Linked DNA regions of Homo sapiens: region 2 is linked to region 1. Evidence: promoter capture Hi-C in 16 types of primary human blood cells and fetal thymus (Javierre and others, 2016). All regions are on one chromosome and are shown on one strand. The core of a region is centred on a gene start or on the middle of the fragment in contact, and the rest is flanking DNA. Distances in the headings are between cores, read along the strand shown.

The links. Contacts are between HindIII fragments. The CHiCAGO score rates a contact against its expected background, and 5 or more counts as called.
Region 2: a contact is called between a fragment that was not itself captured here and the fragment with the promoter of PRRG4 in region 1, in 1 of 17 cell types (M0 macrophages). The highest score is 5.1, in M0 macrophages.

The regions. Positions count from the first base shown.
Region 1 is chr11:32,827,717-32,831,757 of GRCh38, reverse strand. PRRG4 (proline rich and Gla domain 4) reads right to left here and starts at 1,831. Exons shown (of 6, transcript NM_024081.6): 1 at 1,585-1,831; 2 at 1,126-1,250. The coding sequence starts at 1,228. It also overlaps a transcript of CCDC73 not described here. RefSeq lists enhancers at 1,135-1,194, 1,205-1,254 and a silencer at 1,675-2,054. The HindIII fragment of the contact is 6,622 bases long and covers 1-2,901 here.
Region 2 is chr11:33,066,702-33,070,742 of GRCh38, reverse strand. TCP11L1 (t-complex 11 like 1) reads right to left here. Exons shown (of 10, transcript NM_018393.4): 9 at 1,884-2,056. Among named protein-coding and RNA genes, the nearest start is that of LINC00294, 7.4 kb to the left of the region's middle. RefSeq lists an enhancer at 1,991-2,492. The HindIII fragment of the contact is 8,642 bases long and covers 1-4,041 here.

The DNA.
Region 1 (4,041 bases), core at 582-3,081:
TGAGCCACCGTGCCGGCGAGAGTGTCTCTTATACCCGTGTCATGTGAATGAATGATTGCACTCACAATCATTTTAGGGAAGAGCATCTGATTATGGAACCTTATAAGTGCAACCTTCTAAGTGGACTTACATATATGGTGCAGCTTGAGAGGGACTAAAAAGGATCCTCTTCCAAAATCTCTCCCTCTCTCTCTAGCTAGCCTATCCAGTTGCTAGAATTCTGTCATCAGAGTTTCACGCCTTTGGGTTAATGGATTGTTCTAGCTCAACACACACAAACACAGCTGTATTAATCATTAATAAAGTCAGTTAGGAGTACTAGTGTAACAGATCCTTCCCAAATGAAAATGAGCTGAGAATCGGATCTGATGAGAAGGGATAAGAGACAGGAATGTGTGGGGACGTGGATCCAGAGTACTGACACTGAGTGGGGAAGCACCATGAATAGTCAGGGAGAAGGATGCTGAGAGACAGAGGCTTTTTTTTTCTTCTGGTTTTACTAGGTTAGGCTTTTAAGATATAGGCAGGAAACAAACTGTTAATGATCTGAAACCTAAAAACTGTGGACTTCCAGGTTAGCAAGCCCCAAACCTAATCTTTTCTCAACTAGCTGCTTTTATCTAGACAACTAGACCATCTGAAGTCAAAAAGGACCTCAGAGATCATTTTACGCCCCACCCGCATCACTTTTACAGATGAAGACATTCAAGCCAAACGGGATTAAGTTATCTCGCCCAGGGTCTCGCAAGTCCAGACTAGATCCTGGACTCCCCGTTCGCCTCTCCAGGAAGAACAAGTAATTATGCTTATTATAATCGCCACACAGCTTCATCTAGAGAAATGTCACTCACTGATTTTCAGAAGCTGAAATAGGTTTTCCATTCAATTAACCACAAACTAGGTCTTACGTATATACTTATTAAAGGAGACTCACAGACATCAAATTCTATAAATTGCAGTTAAAGAACATAAAAAAACACAACCTTGCCAAATATGCCACAAATTAAACTAAAGGATATTTTAGTGTTTCTATGATTGCTGGGGGTATGTAATTTCAAATACTGCACTTTCTCACTGAGATCTGTGCTATGCGGCTCTGGGTTCCAGGGACGTTTTAGTGCTTACCTTCTTCTCCCGCATGCTTAGAAGCCTTTGGACCTCTTGCGCAATGAGGAAACCCCAGGGTAACTGTGGGCAGTTGGCTGAGTAGAACCAGAAGCGTAAACATAGTCTGGCAACTGTCAAACAAACTAAAACAAACAAAAAAAAATATTAAAAAAAAAAGGCCCCTAGCTCAGCACTTTGAGTTTCTGTCGAACTGAATCACCAACCTGTTGTACTCAAAGCCTAGGCGCAAGAGCGCCCGGCGCGCGGTTTCGGTCGCCGGAACCCGACGCGCGCCCAGGAAGCAGCCCCTGAGAGCGCCTGGGACAAACGCCGTGCCCAGTGACCCTGCCGAGGGCTGATCGGGCACCTGTCGCCGCGGGCAACCCTCGCTATGTGTTCGAATCCAACCCAGTCCGCCGAGGTGGCCCCTTCCAGGTAACCCCCTCCCCGCCGAGGTCCTGCCGCCAGGCCTCGTACCTGTGTCCCCCCGCACATGTTCCAGCAGCCCCCGGGCCAGAGGCTCTTCTTGGGGCGGTTCCTTCGGCCGCCAGGCCCTCGGTCTCCGGCGCCCTCAAACCTCGGCGACGCTCCGGGCCTCGCTCTCCGCAGGGTCTGGATGGCCCCCGCGCGCAAACCTGGGAAGGGCCTGGGGTTCGCAGAGGGGCGCCCGGGGAACACGCGCGGGGTGAGGTCCTGCCTCGGTCCGGGGAGGCGGCCGACGGAGGACGGGAGGAGGCGGCTACCTGGGGACACCTGGCCGCGCCCCACCTCCCGGGGGCCGGGCCTACCTGCGGCGAGCGGGCGGGCAGTGGGCCGGCGTCTCCCGGGAGCCCGCGCTGCGCTCTCAGCCGCCCCAGCTTCTGCCCCATCCCCGGGCGGGCCAGCCGCCTGCCGCCAGTTCTGGCCCCGCCTTGGCGGCGCGGGTGGCTGCTTTTCGATTTGTGTCTGCACTCGGCGTTCTCAATGATCCTAATTCAGGAAGCATTTCGGTTCTCAGTCTTAAGCAGAGCGCCCTCGGCGCGTCCAGGGCTTTTCGCTTTGGGTCCCACTGGGCCAGGAGTCCTGTGGTTACCTTAGGTCAACTGTTCTCAAAAGGGTGGTCCGGGGACGAGGACAAGATATTCATCAGACAAAATACCCTTTATTCGTGATAAGAAATGGAAATGACCTTACAAGTAATTGATTACATTGGTTCTCCAATGGTGGTCCGCCAGGTCTGGGATGTCTCCAAGATCTTTTCCAGGGGTCTCTGAGGGCAAAACTATTTCCATTATAGTAACAATAAATGATTTGCCATTTTCACTTTCATTCTCTCAAGAGTGTACAGTGGAAATTTCCAGGGGCTATTTGAAGTGTAATAACGTCATCATTCTGTCTCCTAATAGAATACCTGAGTGAGCGTGCTTGTATTTTCTGGTATTTTCCATAGTAGTATGTTTACATTATCAGTATGTACATTTTATAGAGATTTATGTAGATTTATAGAGATTAATAAAATTTGTTCTCAGTACTTGTGAACTTAATTTTTTTTCTTTCCTTTTTTCTTTTTCAGAGTAGGGGGTCTCACTTTGTTGCCCAGGAACTCCTGGGCTCAAGAGATCCTCCTGTCTCATCCTCCAGAGTAGCTGGGACTACAGGTGTCCACCAACTCTCTTGGCTACTGCTTTTGTACTTTGATTAGTTCTATTTGTTCATATCTACTAGGATAGCTATAACCTCATTTTTCTGAAGTAATTATCTTGAAATCTTGATCTTTTCCTTGAGTCTATGCATAAACATAACAAAAAGTAAGCTTTGTTGTCTTGATTTCAAATAATATTTTGAAAATTTCTCAGTTTTAATGTTAGATAATAAATATCATTAGATAAAATTCACATAAGTGAAAGCTCTTTGGGGTCCTTGATAATGTAAAAGAGCGTAAAAAGGTCTTGATTAAAGACTTCAAAAACTGCTGCATCAAGTAATGAAGGCAGCAGGTGGACAGAGTACCTATGCCAGGTGATGGTCACATCCTTCTTTATCCAAAGAACGTGCTTAACAGTTCTTTGAAACACTATTTATGCTTTGGTCGAAGTGGTCTGGCACTTGCTGGGGACCAAGGGAAACATTTTTTCCCCCTTCATTTTTTTTTTTTTTTTCTTGAGACAGAGTCTTGCTCTGTCACCCAGGCTGGAGTACAGTGGCACAATCTTGGCTTACTGTAACCTTCGCCTCCTGGGTTCAAGCGATTCTCCTGCCTCAGCCTTCCGAGTAGCTGGGATTACAGGCATCCACCACCACGCCCGGCTAATTTTTTGTACATTTAGGAGAGAGGGGTTTTCACCATGTTGGCCAGGTTGTTCTCAAACTCCTGACCTCAGGTGATCCACCTACCTCGGCCTCCCAAAGTGCTGGGATTACAGGCATGAGCCACTGTGCCCGGCCTCAAATTTTTGACTAATTCAATTTTTACCAAATTCTGTTTTTCTCCTCCCAAAGGATATTGTCTATTTTATTATTATTATTGATAATCAACTGAATTATTCCTAAGTTTTCTGCAGAAATTTTGTTTTCACTGATTCCTTCTAGGCAGTGCTTTTCCTTTCCCTTCTTCCAATCCCTTCCTCTTCACTTTCCATTTGTCTACCTCGTGGTCTAAACTATTTCTATGATGGATTCTTCTTTCCCTCTTATTCAAGCAATTGGGATCAGACTATGAAGAGGCCAGACATGGTTTATTGTGGTTGAACACAAGAATAGGAAACATTTTCACTAGAACACCCATTTTCCTGTTTATTCATTGAGTCAACCTACAGCACTGAGACCTCCTGGTGGGGAGATGGACACCACAGCTTCTGTTGTGGAGGAGAACTTAATCTGACTGAGACCTATATCTGAGAATGTGGGCCTGTAAAGTTCTTATCAAGTGCAAGAACTGACTTATTCATTTTTGCA
Region 2 (4,041 bases), core at 483-2,982, 240 kb before region 1:
GCATGAGTCATCACACCTGGCCCTATCACCCTTATTCTTTTTTTTTTTTTTTTTTTTGAGACAGACTTTAGCTCTTATTGCCCAGGCTGGAGTGCAATGGCACAATCTCGGCTCACCACAATCTCCACCTTTCAGGTTCAAGCGATTATCCTGCCTCAGCCTCTCAAGTAGCTAGCATCACAGGCATGCACCACCATGCCTGGCTAATTTCGCATTTTTAGTAAAGGCGGAGTTTCTACATGTTGGTCAGCCTGGTCTCGAACTTCCAATCTCAGGTGAACTGCCCGGCTCGGCCTCCCAAAATGTTGGGATTATAGGCATGAGCCACTGTGCTCAGCACCCTTATTCTTAAGTTAGTTTGGTTCTCTAAGGTTCCCAGGGCTGGCAGCCTCACTGAAGTAGAAATCTTTGTATTGTTCCTACCCAAAGACTGGTTTTTCTTTTCTTTCTTTCTTTCTTTTAGAAACAGGGTCTTGCTCTGTCACCCAGGCTGGAGTGCAGTGGTGAAATTGTAGCTCACTGCAGCCTCAAACTCCTGGGCTCAAGTGATCCTCCTGCCTCAGCCTCCCGAGTAGCAAGGACTACAGATGCATGTCACTAACCTGGCTAATTTTTTTTTTTTAATTTTTTGTAGAGATGGGGTCTCACTATGCTGCCCAGATAGTCTCGAACTCCTGGTTTTAAGTGATCCTCCCCTTAAGGGCTGGTTTTCAATCTGTCGGTAACTGGCTATTACAAAACAACCCAGGCAGCAGGATGAGTAGCAACTTGCTGGCCACAGGTCTACTTACAGGCACTTTCCTGCCTCCCTATGAAGGTTGTGAGTATAAATCTTGGCTGGATGCAGTGGTTCGTGCCTGTTAACCCCAGCACTTTGGGAGGCTGAGGCAGGCGGATCACTTGAGTCCAGGAATTTGAGACCAGCCTGGCCAACAAGGCAAAACCCCATCTTTAGAAGATATACAAAAAATTAGCTGGGTGTGGTGGTGCATGCCTGTAGTCCCAGCTACTTGGGAGTCTGAAGTGGGAGGACTGCTTGAGCCTGGGAGGTGGAGCACAGAGGTGGAGTGCAGTGAGCCGAGATCGCATCACTGCACTCCAGTCTGGAAGACAGAGTGAGACCCTGTCTCAAAAACAAACAAACAAAACTATGTATTCACAGCATACAGCATGATGTTTTAAATGTATGTATATACTACAAAATGATTAAGTCGAGCTAATTAACAGAATTTTTCATAAAGCCATTGCTGTGATAACTAATAGCTAATATTATAGAATATTTTAAATATTTTATAGAATATGCATTAAAATATTTTAATACTTCAAGTTTATTATAAATTTTAAATAGCAATATCTTAATATTACCATTTTAAGTTATTATATTTGATATGTTAATAGTATTACATACTAATATTTAATAATATTTTAATAGTATTTTTAAATAACATCTTCATTTTACTATTCAGCTCTTTTCGTAACAGCTCCTATTTACTGAGCACTTACTATGTGCTGCCAGGCACTACGGAAAGCGCTTCACCTTCTCATCCCAGGGAGTTCCTGCAGCGACCTTGTAAGGTTGCTGCCCTTATTCCTGCTTTAGAGATGAGGAAACTCGAGTGTCAAGTTACACGCCCAAGCTGCCCTGGGACACTGCTTGTGAACCCAGGAGAGTGATTCCAAGGTTGCAGCCCTTAGAACAATGATGGCTGCCTGGTCCTGTGCCCATCTGTTGGGTGGCCCTGGTCTCTCTGTGGTGCTTCATTACACCATCTCCTCACCCATCAGCACCTTAACTCCAGCTGAGCCCTCAGGTTTCTTCAGATGGACTCGTGCTCCAGCCCCTCAGAGGGCACATCCCTGCTGCCTGCCTTCCCCAAACGTACCCATGATCCTGCGAATGGGGTCATCGGGACTGGCCACGGCCTGGATCTGGCCCTTGAGCACGGTCTCCTTGTCCGTGGTGAAGGGAGAGGACCCACACAGGGAGAGGCAGCTGCTCACCTCCAGGCACACCTTCTCCCCGATGGTAGTGAGGACGTCCTTCAGATGGAAGGAGCTGGGGCAGAGGAGGGGAGAAAGGGCCTATAAGTAAAATACACCTCTAACCAGCTCCAACCGCCCACACCCGGGTGAGAATGACGGCACCAATAACTGGATTTGTGTGTTCAAGGGACAATTTGAGACTCTTTTCCCTGCCACCTTACCTCTCAGGCTGTGCATACCTGACCAGGGGGACTTTCTTTCTCTCCCTCTGCTAGAAAGGACAGTGGGAAGGGCAGGGGCTCAGAGTATACCAGGACCAACGACCCAAAGCACAACTTCCTGCTAGCCTCTGTGTGATAAAATCAGCCTGGAATGACCTCAGAATATCTTGATATACCTCTGGAGGAATACACAAGAAAGCAGGCATTTGGTAGCTGTGGGACAAGAGGGAGAGAGAAACTCTTCATTGGATGCCCTTTTGTACCTTTTGATTTTTGAAACATACACATGTATTAACTAATTTTAAAAGAATAAAGAGGCCGGGCTCAGTGGCTCACGCCTATAATCCCAGAACTTTGGGAGGCCAAGGCAGATGGATCAGGAGTTCTAGGTCAGGAGTTCAAGACCAGCCTGGCCAACATGGTGAAACCCCATCTCTACTAAAAATACAAAAAGATTAGCTGGGCATGGTGATAGGTGCCTGTAATCCCAGCTACTCAGGAGACTGTGGTAGGAGAATCACTTGAATCCAGGAAGTGGACGCCGAGATCACGTCATTGCACTCCAGCCTGGGCAACAAGAGTGAAACTCCATCACAAAAAAATAAAAAAATATATAAAAATTAAAAAATTTTTAAAAAATAAAAGAATAACGAAAAGTGAAATCCTAAAGTTAAAAAAAAAGAGTACCTGGATACCCTGGGTCCCCCAGGCTCTCCCAGGGTGCCTGTGGGGAGCCCCCATGCTGGCAGGCATGCTGTGAGAAGGTAACTGCCTCTGTTGTGGGTCTAGATCCTTTGTATGTAGAATTACTGGGGGGCATGGGAGCAAGCCCTGGCACTCACCATTGGCACCAGCTCTGTGCCCACCCCTGGAGGACCAGGGAGGATATGGGAGTGCAAGGCTGGGCTCCCAAGAAAGCACTGACCTGGATCCCACCCTCAGCGGGAGCTTTGACAGAGTAGTTCTCCAGGCAGGGGACCTAGGTGACAGCCCAGAGCTGTACCTGTGCAAAGGCCTCAGGCTAGGCCCTCAGCTGAGCAAACAAGTTTCCTGGCCTCTCAGCAAACTAGTTTGACTGTCAAAACTGTTGAGGCCCTAGTCACAACTTACGGACACGCCCCACACTGCACTGAACACAGCCATGCTTTGTGAAAATTCAGCAGTAAAATTCCTCCATTTTGTAAGGATGAGAATGTTTAGGGGGTACTTCCCTTGAAGAAGTCTCTGAATTGGACCTTGTTAGATAGAGCATTTACTTAGAACCACTCAAAGATATTCTATAGGCTGGAAACCATAGAAGTCACCCAACATGACTCCATGGTAGGAGCGGTCACTGAAGCCTGCACGCGTGCAGATGCGGACTCGTGCTGGGTAAGAAAATGATGCATTACACTGAGCACAGAACGCCTACAGGGAACAAGCAAGGGCAGAACACTTCAACCACATACATGCAGCTCTGCAGGAATATAGCTGGTTTCTCTCATGACCTTCCTCTAGGGCTCTGCTTTTCACTGTTAGTCGGTTATGAAAGCAATTCAGTGGGTAGCAACCAATTTTTTTTTTTAATGGAATAAGAATAGAGTAGAAACAATCAGGCTGCATTAAACACAGTTAGGGTCAGTTCCAGTTTGAGAAGTTTTCGTTTCTGTTACACGTGTGTTAAGTGTGTACTAGGTCACAATGGAAAATGAATTTCTTACTGCAGGTCCTAGTCACAAACATTTTTGTCCCAATTAATGTCTCTGGGTTCCAGTTTCTTCATAAGCTCCAGTAAGAGTTTAATACATTTGAATGGCTTTGGGAGAGGAATAAAGCACTCAACAAACAAACACAAGAA